3 separate regions of the Homo sapiens genome follow, and regions 1 and 3 are each linked to region 2. The links are contacts of gene promoters, found by promoter capture Hi-C in human tissues and cell types (Jung and others, 2019). All regions are on one chromosome and are shown on one strand. Each heading gives the region's core, a stretch centred on a gene start or on the middle of the fragment in contact. The rest is flanking DNA. Distances are from core to core; before and after follow the strand shown.

Region 1 (2,941 bases), core at 356-2,855, 560 kb after region 2:
CCCAAATAACAAGAGGTAGGGAGCAGTCAGGGGGACCCCAGCCTCACCTTTCACAATGCTGGAGAAGGTGGCAGAGTGTCGGGACACAAAGACCTTGAGCTGTTCATCAAGGTTGCAGACGCCAGGATCGACATCCCAAGACCGGATGCCTGGTGGGAAGGAGGGATCAAGGCGGGAGTTCAGCCGGGCCCCCCAGCTCCCAGAATATTTCAATAATTAGCACCCCGTGGGTGGGGAGCGCCCCAGCCTCCTCCCTTCACTCACAGCTTGGAGACTCAGAAGTACCCAACACCTTCAGGTCTCGCTGCAGCTGAGCCAGGGGACCCAGAGCACACCTCATCATTTTACACACAAGATTCATCAGCAACAAAGCCTCCACCTCCTCCATCTCCACCTCCTCGCTGCTCCTATGCCCTGCCAGACCCGTTTCCACTCACCGCCCTTGCAACAGCTGTTTCCCCTGCCTGGAAGTCCATCCCCCTGCCGCCCCCACCTGTTCCTACTGGCCAGGGGGCCCTTCCCCCTCAGCACCTTCGGGTGCTAAGACTGACTGTCCTCTCAGTCCCTTGCAGCCTTCTCATCCTTCCTGACACCATGTGAGCTGGAAGCTTGTTCCATCTCCTCACTCGCTTTGGGTCCATCCCCAAACCAGACCTGTGTTGGCAGGGCTGAACCTGTCTATCATCCCGGCCATATCCCTGTGTCCACTGCCCAAAGGCCTGGCGCATAGCAGGTGCTCACTAAACACTCCTCAAGCACATGAACCGAGGTGCGTGTTCCTGTCCCATTTTACATGCAATGAAACGCCAGGTCCAGATGCTCCGAGGGATGGGGGATGAACACCCATCTCCACCCACGGGCGCATCACGCCCGCCAGTCCCACTGAGCCAAGTGGCTGCAGGTGAACCTGGCAGGTGCGCCTATGACTCACCTCCCTAGGTGCCAAATCCCCAGGGCAGGCCGCACCCGCCCACACCCCAATTAGCAGCTCCTTGTGAGGCAACAGAAAGCGGGCCCCGGGGCTCCAGGCCCAGCCTCCCCCATATCTGCTTCTCCCTCCGGGAGATCTCTATCTAAGCTGCTAAGACCTGGAGATCCAAAGCGACCCCAGGCCCTACCCCCGGGCAGGCCAGTCAGGCGGGAAGCGGAGCCGTGGTCCAACTGCAAGGGTCCCCAAGCCCAGGCCCGTGTCCCCTCCCCTATCTTCACCCGGAGTTGGGGCGGGGCAGCCCTGCCCAGCCCAGGCCCGGATGCCACTTTCTCCGCGGGCACCCACGGGCACCCCGCCTTTGCCCGCGTCGTGCGCCTAACGGTGAAGGGGACCCAGCCCCAGGCCCGCGACCCCCGCCCCGGAGCCCGGGTCCCGCCGCCGCCGCCGCCGCCGCCCCACCCCGCCGGCCCCGGGCCCAGACGCGCGAACGGGCCCGCCTCCCGGGCTCCCGCGGGCCCCCAGGCCAGCCCGACCTCTTTCGAGCTCCTCCAGGACGTAGGTGAGGAGCCCCGGGCTCCCGAACTCGCTGCCCACCACGAGGAGCAGTGAGCTCGGAGCCGCGGCAGCCCCAGATCCAGCCACCGCCGCCATCTTCGGGCCGCCCCGGCGTTCTCGGCGCCCGCCCCGCAGGCCCCGCCTCTTAAAGGGGCCGCACCGGAAGGGCTGAAGACCCCGCCCGGAACCACCGCATCCCCGCCCCTTTTTGTCGACCACTTACAGGCCCTTTGAGGTCGTGGAGAGCAGGGGATGCGGGCGTTAAAGGGGTTGGCCGACTCCTGGGTGTCCGCTTGGGAGCCGCCTCTCCCAAGTGACCATTCATTCATTTTTTTTTTCATTGAACAAGCTTTGATTGCGTGCCTGCTGCATGTAGGTCAGAACTCCTGCCCTCCAGGAACTCACATCACATGACAGTAGGCCGCATCAGAACCCGGTGCCTATGGATGCTCCCAGCTCTCTAGGTCAGGGCTTGAACAGAGAAAAGAAATCTATCTTGTAGGTAGGGCTTTAAGGGATGTGTAGGAGTTTGCCTTGTGGGTGGTGGGGCAAGAGCTGGTGAGGCAGAAGTTTACAGCAGGTGCAAAGTTTTAGAGGTAAGAAAGTACATGTGTGTTTGGGACACAACCGGAGCACTCTGGGCCTGCCTGGAACAGGGCAACACTTATTCTGCACCTCCTGTGCGCCAGGTATTTTATTGCATTAGCTCATTACATACAAGCACAAAGCGATGAGTTTTGTGCTTGTATGTAGGCACAGATGAGTAGGCACAGTTACTGTGGTCACTTTCAGAGGAAAGAAGAGGAAACTGAGATTTGGAGGGATGAAGTCACCAGGCCTGTAAGTGGTAGAGCAGGTTTGAACCCAAGTGGGTCTTACTCTAGATCCAGCCTGTGCAAGGGACTGCCTGCGTTGCGCACATGGGTACCTCTCTCTCCCCAGATAATCCTCTTTAGGCTTTTCTTTCCTTTCCTCCCCTCTCTTCTCCTCTCCTCCCCTCCCCTCCTCTCCTCTTCTCCCCTCCCCTCCCCTTCTCTCCCCTCTCCTCTCCTCTCCTCCCCTCCCCTCCCTTCCTCTCCCTCCCCTCCCCTCCCCTCCTCTCCCCTCTCCTCTCCTCTCCTTTCCTTTTCTTGAGATGGAGTCTCATTCTGCCGCCCAGGCTGGAGTGCAATGGCACAATCTCAGCTCACTGCAACCTCTGCCTCCCGGGTTCAAGCGATTCCCTTGCCTCAGCCTCCCAAGTAGCGGGATTATAGGTGTCCGCCACCATGCCCTGCTAATTTTTGTATTTTAGTAGAGATGAGGTTTCTTTTCTTTTCTTTTCTTTTCTTTTCTTTTCTTTTCTTTTCTTTTCTTTTCTTTTAGAGACAGAGTCTCGCTCTGTCGCCCAGGCTGAAGGGTAGTGGCGCGATCTCGGCTCACTGCAAGCTCCACCTCCCAGGTTCATGCCATTCT
Region 2 (3,221 bases), core at 452-2,951:
GCCTCCTGAGTAGCTGGGATTACAGGTGCACACCACCACACCCGGTTAATTTTCGTATTTTTTTTTTTTTTTGTATTTTTGTATTTCGGCCAGTCTGGTCTTGAACTGCTGACCTCAAGTGATCTGCCTGCCTCGGCCTCCCAAAGTGCTGGGATTACAGGCATGAGCCACCACACCCAGCCCCGCATTCACCTTTAATACTGAGCATCCATTCTATGCGAGGCCCTGTCAGCAGGCTCAGCATAGGCAATGTCCCTGACCTTCAGGGACTATGGTCCACTCCATCATTCTGGCAGATTCAGAGGCTACAATAAAGGAGTAAAGTCTGAGGGTGGGGCACTTCCTGAAGACACATCTTTGCACTGGGGGAAGGGAGTACCAAGCAGAGAGCATAGCACGTGCAAAGGCCCAGAGGTACGATTAGTCCTGCAACTGGGAGGCCAAGGATCAGAGAGAGTGAGGGGAAGGAGGTCAGGGAAAGGAGGGTGTGGGCTCCATTCAGACAGAGGTGGGGAGCTGGAGGGGTGCATGCAGAGGCTGTAGGTCAGATCCAGATGTCCTAAGGATCCCTTGTGAGTATTGGTGGGGTGGGTCCATCTCTCCTCCCTCACACCCCCTTCCCAGCCAGTCTTAATAGTGGCTCATTAAGCCCTAACAGCCATGATAGTGGTAACAAGCATGTAATAATTATACCCGGCATTCCTGCCTCATCAGCCCAGCCCCTGGAGTTGGGCACCCTCGCCCAGGACATCACAGCCCTGGCAGACCTGGGGTTAAAACGTGGGCGGCGGAAGGAAGGGGCTGCGCAGGGGCCTGGACTCCCAGGTTCTAGGGTTCTAAGGGTGGACAAGAGCTCAGGCCTAGTCACAGCCCGGGCCCTGCTGTGACTCCTAGCTAACTCTCGGGGGATGGTCACTCCACCTCTCTGAGCCCAGTTTCCCATCTGTAAAGGCAGGAAGTAGGACTCCTGGTTCTAGAACGCACTCAGTGAAAATGATCAGGATCCAAGCGCTTTCAGCAACTTCTGGCGACCCTCCTCTCCCCTCCCGTCTCTTCCTGAGCAATCACACGCGGGGTGGAGGGAGGGAGGGAAGGAAGGAGGGAGGGTGAGGAACGCAGACCTCCCCACACCCCCGGCGAGCCCCCGGACACAGCCCCACCAGGCCTCCAGCCCCGTATCCGCACAAAGCCTCTCCAGAAGGCGCGCTAGGGGAGGCCCTGGCGGCACAGCAGAGCAGGAGGCGCCAAGGAGTTATTTAGCCATGCGGGACCCCATCCCCCTCCAGTCCCCGGAGGCCGGCACCGCCCCCGCCCCCGCCCCCGCCCGGCCGGGGCCCCACGCGCGGACACGGGGCGGGGCCTCGGGGCGGGCGGGCGCCTGGTGGCCCGGGCCCATCACGCCACCCGGGACGTGCCTTGGCGGAGGCGGCGCCGGGGAGATCGGTCGTACACAGCGGTCCCGGGGCGGGGTGACCCGGCCCGGGCGCGCGGCCGCCCCCATGACGTCAACCCACAAGGCAGCGCGCTGTTGTGGCGTTTACCGCGCGTCGCCGGGGCAACGGCGGCCGGGCGGGCGTCGGCGGCTTGGCCCCGCCCCTCCATGCAAATGAGCGACGTCACCCGCACCCAATGGCGAACGGGGGCGGTGAGCTCATCGCGCCGAGCCGAGGCTATAAGAGGGCGCACAAGTGGCGCGGCGCAGGAGCCGCCGCCAGTGGAGGGCCGGGCGCTGCGGCCGCGGCCGGGGCGGGCGCAGGGCCGAGCGGACGGGGGGGCGCGGGCCCCCCGGGAGGCCGCGGCCACTCCCCCCCGGGCCGGCGCGGCGGGGGAGGCGGAGGATGGAAACACCCTTCTACGGCGATGAGGCGCTGAGCGGCCTGGGCGGCGGCGCCAGTGGCAGCGGCGGCAGCTTCGCGTCCCCGGGCCGCTTGTTCCCCGGGGCGCCCCCGACGGCCGCGGCCGGCAGCATGATGAAGAAGGACGCGCTGACGCTGAGCCTGAGTGAGCAGGTGGCGGCAGCGCTCAAGCCTGCGGCCGCGCCGCCTCCTACCCCCCTGCGCGCCGACGGCGCCCCCAGCGCGGCACCCCCCGACGGCCTGCTCGCCTCTCCCGACCTGGGGCTGCTGAAGCTGGCCTCCCCCGAGCTCGAGCGCCTCATCATCCAGTCCAACGGGCTGGTCACCACCACGCCGACGAGCTCACAGTTCCTCTACCCCAAGGTGGCGGCCAGCGAGGAGCAGGAGTTCGCCGAGGGCTTCGTCAAGGCCCTGGAGGATTTACACAAGCAGAACCAGCTCGGCGCGGGCGCGGCCGCTGCCGCCGCCGCCGCCGCCGCCGGGGGGCCCTCGGGCACGGCCACGGGCTCCGCGCCCCCCGGCGAGCTGGCCCCGGCGGCGGCCGCGCCCGAAGCGCCTGTCTACGCGAACCTGAGCAGCTACGCGGGCGGCGCCGGGGGCGCGGGGGGCGCCGCGACGGTCGCCTTCGCTGCCGAACCTGTGCCCTTCCCGCCGCCGCCACCCCCAGGCGCGTTGGGGCCGCCGCGCCTGGCTGCGCTCAAGGACGAGCCACAGACGGTGCCCGACGTGCCGAGCTTCGGCGAGAGCCCGCCGTTGTCGCCCATCGACATGGACACGCAGGAGCGCATCAAGGCGGAGCGCAAGCGGCTGCGCAACCGCATCGCCGCCTCCAAGTGCCGCAAGCGCAAGCTGGAGCGCATCTCGCGCCTGGAAGAGAAAGTGAAGACCCTCAAGAGTCAGAACACGGAGCTGGCGTCCACGGCGAGCCTGCTGCGCGAGCAGGTGGCGCAGCTCAAGCAGAAAGTCCTCAGCCACGTCAACAGCGGCTGCCAGCTGCTGCCCCAGCACCAGGTGCCCGCGTACTGAGTCCGCGCGCGGGGCGCATGCGCGGCCACCCTCCCCAAGGGGCGGGCTCGCGGGGGGGTGTCGTGGGCGCCCCGGACTTGGAGAGGGTGCGGCCCTGGGGACCCCCCCTCCCCGAGTGTGCCCAGGAACTCAGAGAGGGCGCGGCCCCCGGGGATTCCCCCCCCCCGAGGGTGCCCAGGACTCGACAAGCTGGACCCCCTGCTCCCGGGGGGGCGAGCGCATGACCCCCCCGCCCTCGCGCTGCCTCTTTCCCCCGCGCGGCCGCCCCGTGTTGCACAAACCCGCGCGTCTCGGCTGCCCCTTTGTACACCGCGCCGCGGAAGGGGGCTCCGAGGGGGC
Region 3 (2,956 bases), core at 408-2,907, 550 kb before region 2:
GTGATGAGGACATTCCCCAGGACCCCGGTGCAACACGCGCCACCCCCCCAGCCCCTCTCCCACCCCAGGCAAGCAGCGCCCAGGACCAGGAAATGCATGCCCGATACTTCTCCCAACCCAAGCCCCCATTTAAAATACCTAAGTAACCTTCTCTAAACATCCACATCATTAAAAATAAGTTTCCAACGTGGCAGACTCGTTTATGTAAAGCCATTATTGCTGTCTTATTGGAAGAACAAAACTCAAACCCAACTTTTCCAAGGCAAGAGTTGTGAAGTTATGTAACAGGTCGGTTTCAGCAACAGGCGATGCAAGAAAAAACAAAATACAACCTGCTTCCTGAATGATCTTAATAGCCAGCCAATATGTGCTCCTCCATGGGAGGCAAAAATTCTTCTCTGCCTCAACCTTCCGCTGGCCAGCGCCCCTATGCATGGGGAAAGTCGAACCTACGCTCCGTGACTGTGAAAGGTGGGGTGCCCAGATGGCTGCGACCACAGATGGGAGGTGGGACAGGCGGCCAGACCCACCAATGGGGAGACCGGGCAGGACCCCCGGACCAGGCCAGAGACAGGATTAGGGCAGGTCACCCTGGATACTCCCGGAAAGGGACTGAGGGAAGTCACTCAAGCTCCGGCCTGAGCAAGACCCGGCCCAGGTCGTAGGAGAACTCGAGGCAGAATACCGAGACCTGCGAAAGAGGGACCAGGGCAGGTCACCCTAGCCCGGATGGAATGGAAGAACTCAGATAAGTCAGGGGGCAGGTTACTCCAGGCCAGACTGATTGTGGGACACAAGGCAGGTCAGCCCGGGCCCAGGAGGGGGAGCAAACCCAGCTGGCGTAAAGGAACAGGGTCAGGTTAGCTCGGTCCCGAACGAAGTGGAGGACTCGAGGCAAGTCTGCCCGGCCCAGGAGTTGGGGGCCGAAGGAACTCAGCCAGGTCGCGGCCGGAGCGGGGGACCCGGGGCAGATCAGGCCAGGCCCGGGCAGATTGCAGGACCTGGGGCAGGTAAGCTCAGGCCGAGCCAGAGTAGGGGACCCGGGGCAGATCGCCCCAGGCCCGGCCGCGATGGGGGACTCCGGCCAAACACAGGCCGGGCCCGAGGCGAGTTCGGGGCAGGTCTCAGGCGCCGAGGCCGGGCCCGGGCTTCCGGCACCGCCATGTGCCGCTCACCTGCGCGTCGAGCTGTCCCGCCGCAGCGCCCGCGCCCGCGCCGCCCGGGCCTCCCGCGCCGCCACCGCCCGGGCCGCCGGGGCCGCCGGGGGGCGTCTGCGTCTGGCTAGGAAGAGTAAAGTCGGTGAACTCGAACTCGGAGCCCTGTGTGTCGGCGCCAAGCAGCTCGGCCTCCTCCGTGTCCAGGAAAGTGAGAGTCTGCGAGCTGGGCCCGTACGCCTCCACGCTCATGGTGCCTCCGGGTAGGGCCCTCGGGCCGGTTCCGCGCTGCACTCGAGCCCGCCGCCGCGCTGAGGCCTAGGCCGCAGGCCTCGGGTCGCTGCCGCTGTCGCCCCCGCGCGCCCGGAAAGGACCAAACCGCGCGCCCCGGCGCCAGCCGGACCGAGAGGTAACAGTGCCGAGCCGCCGCCGCTGCCGCCGAGCCCCTCCGCGCCTCAGCTCCCCTCGAAGCCGCCAGCCGCTCGCAGCCTAGAGCAGGAACTGCCGCCACCGCCGCCGTCGCCGTGCGCGTGCGCGAGCCCGACGCCGGCGGAAGCGCGCGCGCTCTTCGCGGGCGCCTGGTGCCCAGCAGGAAGACGGGACGCGCACCGCGCACGCGCAGGGGGTGGGGCTTTCAACCGCCGCTGCGGCGGCAGCTCGAGGACTTGGTCCCGCCCCAACTGCTAATTGGGGACGCCCGGGCGGCTGGCGGTGTGGACTTGGTGGTCTGCACCTGTGGTCGCTGCGACGGTGTTTCGGTTTAATTGAGCGCTAGCCGAATACCCTACATAGGTGGTCTCGGAACGCCCAACTGGAGAGACTGGGCAGGGACGGTGCGCTCCCACTCCTGGCAAAAGCTGCTTGGAACTCAGTTTCCCCATCTGTAAAATGGAGGGTGCCTCGCACATAGTAGATGCTCCCTGTGCATTGGTTTAAAAAGGGAGTGGGGCTCGGCGCGGTGGTCACACCTGTAATCCCAACACTCAGAGGCTGAGGCGGGAGAACTGCTTGAACTCAGGAGTTCGAGACCAGCCTGGGAGACAGAGTGAGACTCCATCTCTACAAAAAATATAAAAATTAGGCCGAGCGCGGTGGCTCACGCCTGTAATCCCAGCACTTTGGGAGGCCGAGGCGGGTGGATCATGACGTCAGGAGATCGAGACCATCCTGGCTAACATGGTGAAACCCCGTCTCCACTAAAAATACAAAAAATTAGCCAGGCGTGGTGGCACGAGCCTGTAGTCCCAGCTACTCAGGAGGCTGAGGCAGGAGAATCGCTTGAACCCAGGAGGCGGAGGTTGCAGTGAGCCAAGATTGTGCCACTGCACACCAGCCTGGGCAACAGAGTGAGACTCTGTCTCAAAAAAAAAAAAAAAAATTAGCTAAGCGTGGTGGTTCGCACCTGTAGTCCCAGCTACTAGGGAGGCTGAGGTGGGAGGATCGCTTGACCCTGGGAAGTTGAGGCTGCAGTAAGCCGAGATTGCACCACTGCACTCCAGCCTGGGTGACAGAGCGAGACCCTGTCTCAAAAATAAGTAAAAATAAATGAATGGGGATAGTCTTACGTACTGGGCCTGGCACTTGGAAATGATGGTTGCTGCTGTTCCTGATGCCTCTGCCACTGTTATTATACCATTACTATTTTTGCTATGATTATTATTTAGTGGACGTATACAGCAAAACAACTGGAAGCACATGGTCTGTGGTGGACTCTAGACCTGACCACTTACCAGCTGTGTGAAATTATACAAGTGACTTAACCTCTCTGAGCCTAGGGTTTCTGTTGCCATTAAGGTGGCATA

What was found. Contacts are between HindIII fragments. The study calls those that stand out against the background at their distance.
Region 1: the fragment with the promoter of MAP1S here is called in contact with the fragment with the promoter of JUND in region 2 in 2 of the 25 tissues and cell types used here (dorsolateral prefrontal cortex and hippocampus).
Region 3: the fragment with the promoter of UPF1 here is called in contact with the fragment with the promoter of JUND in region 2 in 1 of the 25 tissues and cell types used here (dorsolateral prefrontal cortex).

What each region holds. Positions count from the first base shown.
Region 1 is chr19:17,718,144-17,721,084 of GRCh38, reverse strand. MAP1S (microtubule associated protein 1S) reads right to left here and starts at 1,605. Exons shown (of 7, transcript NM_018174.6): 1 at 1,465-1,605; 2 at 48-149. The coding sequence starts at 1,582. RefSeq lists enhancers at 414-563, 954-1,023 and a silencer at 1,374-1,423. The HindIII fragment of the contact is 7,935 bases long and covers 1,223-2,941 here.
Region 2 is chr19:18,280,102-18,283,322 of GRCh38, reverse strand. JUND (JunD proto-oncogene, AP-1 transcription factor subunit) reads left to right here and starts at 1,701. Exons shown (of 1, transcript NM_005354.6): 1 at 1,701-3,221. The coding sequence starts at 1,839. The coding sequence ends at 2,882. MIR3188 (microRNA 3188) reads right to left here and starts at 1,246; the gene lies at 1,162-1,246. It overlaps LOC124904652 (a long non-coding RNA gene), which reads right to left and starts at 1,231. Exons shown (of 2, transcript XR_007067154.1): 1 at 193-1,231. RefSeq lists silencers at 1,223-2,222, 2,803-3,112 and an enhancer at 1,716-2,567. The HindIII fragment of the contact is 27,320 bases long and covers 1-3,221 here.
Region 3 is chr19:18,830,660-18,833,615 of GRCh38, reverse strand. UPF1 (UPF1 RNA helicase and ATPase) reads right to left here and starts at 1,657. Exons shown (of 24, transcript NM_002911.4): 1 at 1,176-1,657. The coding sequence starts at 1,406. RefSeq lists silencers at 1,044-1,123, 1,134-1,223, 1,374-1,473, 1,594-1,853. The HindIII fragment of the contact is 23,837 bases long and covers 1-2,956 here.